Regions from separate parts of the Homo sapiens genome. Here region 2 is linked to region 1. Evidence: promoter capture Hi-C in 16 types of primary human blood cells and fetal thymus (Javierre and others, 2016). All regions are on one chromosome and are shown on one strand. The core of a region is centred on a gene start or on the middle of the fragment in contact, and the rest is flanking DNA. Distances in the headings are between cores, read along the strand shown. Region 1 holds the start of WDR45B (WD repeat domain 45B). Region 2 overlaps LOC101929650 (a long non-coding RNA gene).

The links. The method cuts DNA at HindIII sites, captures the fragments that hold promoters and counts their contacts. A CHiCAGO score of 5 or more calls a contact.
Region 2: a fragment that was not itself captured here is called in contact with the fragment with the promoter of WDR45B in region 1 in 1 of 17 cell types (erythroblasts); the score reaches 5.5 in erythroblasts.

The regions. Positions count from the first base shown.
Region 1 is chr17:82,647,030-82,650,968 of GRCh38, forward strand. It overlaps WDR45B (WD repeat domain 45B), which reads right to left and starts at 1,415. Exons shown (of 10, transcript NM_019613.4): 1 at 1,245-1,415. The coding sequence starts at 1,311. RefSeq lists silencers at 868-917, 928-977, 1,578-1,647 and enhancers at 1,060-1,559, 1,938-2,007. The HindIII fragment of the contact is 18,003 bases long and covers 1-3,939 here.
Region 2 is chr17:83,179,257-83,183,012 of GRCh38, forward strand. All of the region lies in intron 2 of LOC101929650 (a long non-coding RNA gene), which reads left to right. Among named protein-coding and RNA genes, the nearest start is that of METRNL, 100 kb to the left of the region's middle. The HindIII fragment of the contact is 3,312 bases long and covers 480-3,756 here.

The sequences.
Region 1 (3,939 bases), core at 165-2,664:
ACCAGCCTGGCCAACATGGTGAAACCCCGTCTCTACTAAAAATACAAAAAGTAGCCGGGCGTGGAGGCAGGCGCCTGTAATCCCAGCTACTCAGGAGCCTGAGGCAGGAGAATGGCGTGAACCCGGGAGGAGGAGGTTGCAGTGAGTCGAGATCGCACCAGGCTGGGCGACAGAATGAGACTCCGTCTCAAAATGAAATAAATAAATAAATAAAATTGTCTTCACATATACGGGATCATACAGCACCTGCCTGGATTCTCTTCAAAAACAAAACTTCCAAAGCCAACATGTAAAGCCTCGCAGAAGCCTGTCTCGGAATAACGGACATTCCTTTTCCTCCCCATCAGGACCTTTGGGAAGCGCGCCCTTCAAATGGGAGGTGAGGAGGCAACCATCCGAATCCAGGTCCCGCCCGCCTCCCGCGGGAATCCGACCGCGCCGCCCCGGCCGCATCCCCCGCAGCTCCGAAGCACCTGCGGGGAAGGAGGTCACCTTCCCTGGGCGCTTTAAATCATCCAGTGCTTACACCTGGATTCCGACATGGGAAAAGAAGTAAGATTTCCCTCAAAGGCCTCCCTTAAGTCCTTTGACTCCACCAAACACGAAGAAAAATCCCGGGGAGTGGGGGTGGGGAGAGTGACATTTTCCGATGGAAACCGACGGGAAAGGTGAGACCTGCACCCCACCCGCGCCACTCGCCACCAGAGGCGTCGGAGACGCCGGCTCCGCGGCTCCAGTAAACCCAAGCGAAGTCAGCTCAGCCACGGGCTACCTACTAAAGACCCTGAAAGGAACAGGGGGCAAAACGGGGTTCTGGGCAGGGCGTCAATCACGCTGTGGGGAAAATCCCGATAACCGTGGAGCCCGCAGGGAGCCAGGGAACCCGAGTGGGCGTGGCGCGCGGGGAGGGGCGTCCGCGCAGGAGGCTGGGGTTCTGTGCCGTCTCCCACCGACCTCGACCTCGGCCCGGGACGGCCGGCTGGGAGCGGTCACAACCCGGGGGGTGGGGGAGCGCGAAAGGCCAGGAAGGTGGGAGCCGGTTCGGGCCTGGTCCGGACCCCGGCTCGGGCTGGGAGCAGCGGCGAGGGCCGGGGCCGGGGGCTTCGGAGGGGAGCTCGGGCGGGGCCGGGGTCCCGGGTGGAAGGCCTGGCCGGAAAGGGGCGCCCAGGAGAGGCCTGAGAGCCGGGGACCCCGGGCTGCGGGAAGGCCCGGCCGGGCAAGGCGACAGGGCCGCGCCTCCTCACCGTGGTCCTGGTTGAAGCCGGCGTAGAGCAGCCCGTTGCCGTGAGGGTTACACGGCAGGAGGTTCATGGCGCCGCCGTGCTGGGTCGCCGCTCCTCAGCGCTGCATGCCTCTCGCTGGGGACGGCGGCCTGGTCCCTTCGGGCCGGCGCTGAGGCCGCCGCGGCCGGAAGTGCCGGACGTACGTGCGTGCGTGCTGGATGTGCGTGTGTGCTGGACGTGCGTGCGTGCGTGCTGGACGTCCGTGCGCGCGCCCGCGCCCCACCAGGGAGCCTATGGAGCGCCGAGCGCATCTAACCGAAGCGAGGCGAGACGAGGCGAGGCAGGGCGGGGAGGGGCGGGGCGGGGCGAGGCGAGGCGAGGCGAGGAAAGGCGGGGAGAGGCAGGGCGGGCGGGGCGGGATGAGGCGGGGAGAGGCAGGGCGGGCGGGGCGGGATGAGGCGGGGAGAGGCGGAGCGAGGCGGGGCGGGGAGGAGGGGGCGGGGCGGGGCGGGGCGAGGCGAGGAAAGGCGGGGAGAGGCAGGGCGGGCGGGGCGGGGCGGAGGCGGGGAGGGGCGGAGCGAGGCGGGGCGGGGAGGAGGGGGAGGGGCGGGGCGGGGAGGGGCCAGGCGGGAGCGCAGAGCACGTTCGCGGGAGGGTCTGGCCTTGTCATGCGCGGGGTCGCCGCGGGAAGGAGGATGGCCCGTTGAGGGCTTGGCACGGATACCTGACGGTCGGAGGAAGGGGGGAGAGCCGGTAAAGGAGGCTGACCCAAAACTGAGGCCCGGTGCATCATCCCTCATGAGAGGCAAGCCCAGAAGCGCCACAATACTAGGGTCCCCCTTCAGGAGACAGAGACCCCCAGGACACAGAGGGCCCCCAAGTCACTCAGCCCCCCCAGGACACGCAGCTCCTGCAGGACGCAGAGGGTGCCCAAGACACACAGTCCCCAGGACAGAGACCCCCCAGGACACAGAGGACCCCCAAGACACGCAGTCTCCAGGACACAGAGGTCCCCCCAGGACACACAGTGCCCCCAGGACACAGAGGTCCCCCAGGACACAGCACTCCCAGGACACACAGCCCCCCCGGGACACAGAAACCCCCCCAGGACACAGCCCCCCTAAGACACACAGCCTCCCCCAGTACACAGAGTCCTTTCCAGGGCACATATTCCCCCAGAAGACACAGAGGTCCCCCTAAGACACACAGCCCCCCCAGGACACACAGACCGCCAGGTCACAGAGACCTTCCCAGGACACAGGGACCTTCCCAGGACACATAGCCCCCCAGAGGACACACAGCCCCCCCACGACACAGCCCATAGAGGACACAACCCCTTAGTACCCCACCTAAAGGACAGGTGGCCCTCACACAGCACAGCCCCCGCAGGACTCCGGGACCCTCAGGTCACATTGCTCACAGGGCACAGTTCTCAACTCTTAGGGTCAGGCTGCTGGGGGCATCCTGGTCACAGAGCTTTGTCCCTGGGCTTGGCTCATGCAGTGGATGGCTGTGGAGGCCTGAGTGCTGGCCCTCGTGTCTCTTGCCCAGGGAGTCCTCTCCACTCCCCCTCCTCACTTTCCTGTCCCCTCCTAGGCTCTCCCTGTTCCCTGCAGCACACCTGATCTCCTAGGAGGTCCTGACACTGTCCCCTCGCAGCCACCTGCCTCCACCCCGTCTGTCATCCTCATCCCACCCTCGCCACTTGCCTGAGCTGGTGCTGACCTCTTAGCCATGGGGAGGAAGGAGCTGGACTGTAAGCTGAGATCACTGGCCCACTCGGGCCAGGCGGTCTCCGCATCGTGGGCATTGAACACCTCGATTCCCATACGAGAGGGGCTCCTCCCTGAGAGCGACCAGAAGCCTTCCGATGGCGGAGCGAGTTGGGCCGCCCCGGCTGTGACTAGGGCTCGGGGGCCCAGGTCCAAATCACAGAGCTGGGGCGAGACCTAAGTGCGGTCCAGGGGCTCAGCACCCTCTTCCCTGAAGGGCACTGGGTTCTCCTCTGTGCACACGTACCGGTACCTGCTGTGAGAAGTGTCACGTGGGGGAAGGAGAGAGGCGTGGGTAAGGGACATTTCCCTTCATTTCTCTGCTTGCCACCCTTGGGGCCTCCTTCAGTTCACATTTTACTCAGTCTCCCGGTGGCTGTACAGCCGGGGGCGGGGGCATGTGTGGACATCCACACACAGCGCTGGTTGTATCCTAACCAGGAAACTCAAAGCAGCCTTGCCCACCACAGTGCGTTGAATGGTGACCCTCTAAAGATGTGTCCTGGGGGGCTGAGGAGGGAGGATGGCTTGAGCCCAGGAGATTGAGGCTGAGGCTGCACTGAACTGAGATTGTGCCACTACACTCCAGCCTGGGCAACACAGCAAGACTCTGTCGCAAAAAAAAAAAAAAAAAAAGATAGGTCCACCCAGAACCTGAGAATAGGGGCTTCTTTAGGTAAAGAATCATTGCAGAAGTAATTAAGGATCTCGAGATAAGATCATCCTGGATTTGGGGTGGGCCTTAAAGCTGGTGACCGGCACCCTTGGAGGAGACAGGAATGGAGGAGATACAGGGGACAGCAGCCAGTGGGACTGGAGTGCTCAGCCCTAAGTCAGCAAGTGCAGGAATCGTGGGGTCACCAGGAGCCGGGAGAGGCATGAACGGTTCTTCCCCAGAGCCTCCCAGCCTGGGAAGGAACACAGGCTGTTGTCCAAGCCACCAG
Region 2 (3,756 bases), core at 886-3,385, 530 kb after region 1:
TCACATTTCTTTTTATTTACACGGATAAGGATGGATGAGCTTGATGTTCTCCCACCTTCCTCTTGGCGCAGCTTTCTTCTCCTCCCTCTTGGAAGGACTTTCGCTTTTTATTATTATTTTAAACGTTTTAAACAACAATCTCCCAGGCGCCCAACAAAGGCGCTACTGGTGCCAGGTGCTTGGCGCCTGCCTTCCCTGACAACACACGGGCCACATCCTCAGCCCCCCCGGCTGGTGGCCTGTGACTCCCGCCCCAGTGCCAGACTCTTTATTTCATTTTGTTGGCATGGTGGAAAACACTGGCTTTTCAGGAGGTGACCCTGCTTTCAAGAGCCAACCTTTGGAGAAAACAGGACACAGAAGCTGGTTTTGGCTGTGAGGCCCTGACGCACGGATGCAGGTTGCACAGGCCCCATGTCCTCCTCACAGCCTGCCTTTCCAGCTGGCTCAGGAGTCCCTGCGGCTTGAGTTTATCCAGAAGCTTCCCTTTCTCCCGCAAGAGCTACTCGTGGAAGAGACCAGTTTTAAGTGATTTTGCCGCATTTGACCTTTTGGGTATTTCAGTGAAAACAAAACCTCTTCCACAATGCAAAAACTTGGATTCAACAACCATCGATTATTCCCTCTGGGCACCTCACAGAGCTGGGGTGAAGGCCACCTGGGGTTCACGGGACTCACCGTTGGGTGTTGGCATTGAGTCTTGTAGAGCAGGGACTGGCAAAGTCAGAGCACAGGGCCTGGTGTGAATCCCACCTCCTTCCCCGACTGGCCAGGGGACCTGCAGCAAGCGCTCAGCATCTCTGAGCCTTAGTTTCTTCCTCTGCACGGGGAGCTCAGCGGTGGCACCCACTTCATTTCAGTGGTGCCCCCTTAGTCATGGATGATATAAAAATGTTGCCACAAAAGTAACCAAGACAGGTCGGGATGAGATATGCACGACTTCTAAACCCAATTAGGGATTAATTAGGAACATACAATAAATTCCCCCAATTCATAAGAAAAAGACAGGAACTCCGGTGGATGAATGGACAGATGATATTAATAGGCAATTTTCAGAGGAATTTAAAGCAGCAGACAGATCCATCATACCTGCCAGACAGGTGTGCGCTGCCTGGTGTGACCCTGCTGGAGGCAGTGAGGGCAGCAGGGATGGCAGCACCTGGCGGCTAGGACTCGGCCAAGCTGAAGTTCATGCACCCGAGAGCCACAGCCTCTGCCCCAGACAGGGATCAGAAGTAGATTTACACTCCCCTCTGAAAGAACAACAACAGAGAAAACACACAAAGCACATTTTTCAAAACCCTGGGCATCGGTCGCCCGCACTCCGCCACCGTGAGTACACTGCGTGGACCCAGAACCTTGACTCCTCTTGTTTCTGTGAGGCTGGGACTTACGGGTGATGTGCAGAGGGGCCAGAGCTGGTATTTAGAGAGGAAATTTGGGGGCAATTAAAATAGGGGTTCTCGACAAGTCTGGCCTCCCTGAGCCCAGGACCACCATAGAGCTCTGAACAGAGGAATGAGCTGGTCGCCGTGAGAGGCGGCTTTGCCAGAGCTGGGCCAGGGGGAAACAGCCCGTTCAATCAGGACTTGGGGGGTGGGACTGGCTTGGGGTTGGTTGGTGTGAGGCGGGGAGAAGGAGATCCGGAAGAGTCCTCGACGGCTGACATTCACGTCACTGGAGGGGGCCGATTGGAGGGGTCAGCGATGGGCTCAATTTTGTGCCCTCTTGAGTTCGAGGTGTCTGTGGGGCCTCCAGCTACAGACATTTGTGTGTTGGAAAAGCTCTGCAAACCCTGAAACCTGGGGAGGCCCCTGGTCTTGTCTGATGGTTGTAGGTCATGGTGACCTCCACTAGGGCATCTTCACTCCCCTGAGCCACACTGAGACACTGGGTTTGATTGAGACTCTCCAGCCATGATGACAAGGGTTCAGCTCTGGTAAGCCATGTGCAGCCTCCCCCTCAAAGACCAGATGCCACCCACCCAGGGCCCCAAACATCCTGGCCCAGCGGGTCTGCTCACTCCTTGATGAGCTTACCTTCCTCGATCACCCCAACATGCAGAGAGAAACCCTTTGCCCTTCTTGGAGGGAGGGGTCAGATGCTCACTCTGCAGATCCCTGAAGACAAGCAGATGCTCCCTGAGTGGCCTGTCTGAGGGATTCAGCTGGCAGCTGGGTATCCTCATGTGTGCAGTTCCTGAGTGAGCACTGGTGGTGGGGAACAGGCCTGGCTTTCCATGCCTGGGGGGTGCAGGGGGGATGGGCCTGGCTTTCCACGCCTGGGGGATGCAGGGGGGATGGGCCTGGCTTTCCACGCCTGGGGGGTGCAGGGGGGATGGGCCTGGCTTTCCACGCCTGGGGGGTGCAGGGGGGATGGGCCTGGCTTTCCACGCCTGGGGGGTGCAGGGGGGATGGGCCTGGCTTTCCACGCCTGGGGGGTGCAGGGGGGATGGGCCTGGCTTTCCACGCCTGGGGGGTGCAGGGGGGATGGGCCTGGCTTTCCACGCCTGGGGGGTGCAGGGGGGATGGGCCTGGCTTTCCACGCCTGGGGGGTGCAGGGGGGATGGGCCTGGCTTTCCACGCCTGGGGGGTGCAGGGGGGATGGGCCTGGCTTTCCACGCCTGGGGGGTGCAGGGGGGATGGGCCTGGCTTTCCACGCCTGGGGGGTGCAGGGGGGATGGGCCTGGCTTTCCACGCCTGGGGGGGTGCAGGGGGGATGGGCCTGGCTTTCCACACCCGGGGGGTACAGCGGGGATGGGCCTGTATTCCACACCTGGGGGTGTATGTCCACCACCCAGATGCCACCTCTGTGTCATTCCTGGAGGGCATTCGGGCATCACCTGAGGGTGGGGAGCAGTGCCCTGACCCACATGACCCCCAGCAGAAGCTGCCACTGTCGGCCCTGGGCTCCGGGTGTCAGCGTGGCGCTCTGGGCTTTTCCCACACTGGGGGGCCATTTCAGGATGTGGATCCCTCCAGGAAGGGCTTGCTGAGTGGCTGCTGTTTGCTGGGATGGGTGAGGGGTAGACAACAGGCACTCAGGAGCCATGGTTGGGACAGAACTTATGTTTGTCAGCCACCTTGGAGGGGCGACCTGGAGAGCTCGGACAACCTTGCAGCACCCACCAGAGAGCTTAGCACCAGGACCCAGCGGAGCTCTCCCACGTGCACACAGACTCACTGCTCGTGTGTGAGAAGGGGAATAAGTGTGACTGAGCCTTCTGGAAGTTAGGGCCTAGCACAGAGGGTCCCAGATGGCCCGGAGAACCAGGTCCTGTGCAGCTATCCAGAGAAGGTCCAGTCACCAGAGACAGACAGCTGGAGTGCCAGGGCCCTGGAGGTATCAATTGCCTTTGTTTTACATGAAGACATTGAACTTCCACAGGAGGGCAAACGCCCTGGCTAAAGTAACTGGCGGGGCAGCGTCAGGAACTCACAAGCCCCTGTGGTCCGTGCAGGCTGCCGTCGATTTGATGAGCACAGCAGGTCCAGGCAGAGAGACGCTCACCTCCAGCTGCGGTTGGGGTATGTCTGGGAGGCCTGTGGGGTGGCTTTGCTCCTCCACCTTGGGCCAGGGTAGCCTGTGGCAAAGACAGTCTCACAGTGTGTAGTCTCCTTGAGGTCTGGGCCTGTCCGCAGACAGGAAATAATGAGACCGGCTCAGGACAGGGCCGGGCTGGCCTCTGTGTTTTGTGAAAGTTCGAGTTTCTACACCCTCTGAGAAGATGCTGGGCCCTGAGGGAGGGTGTGGACC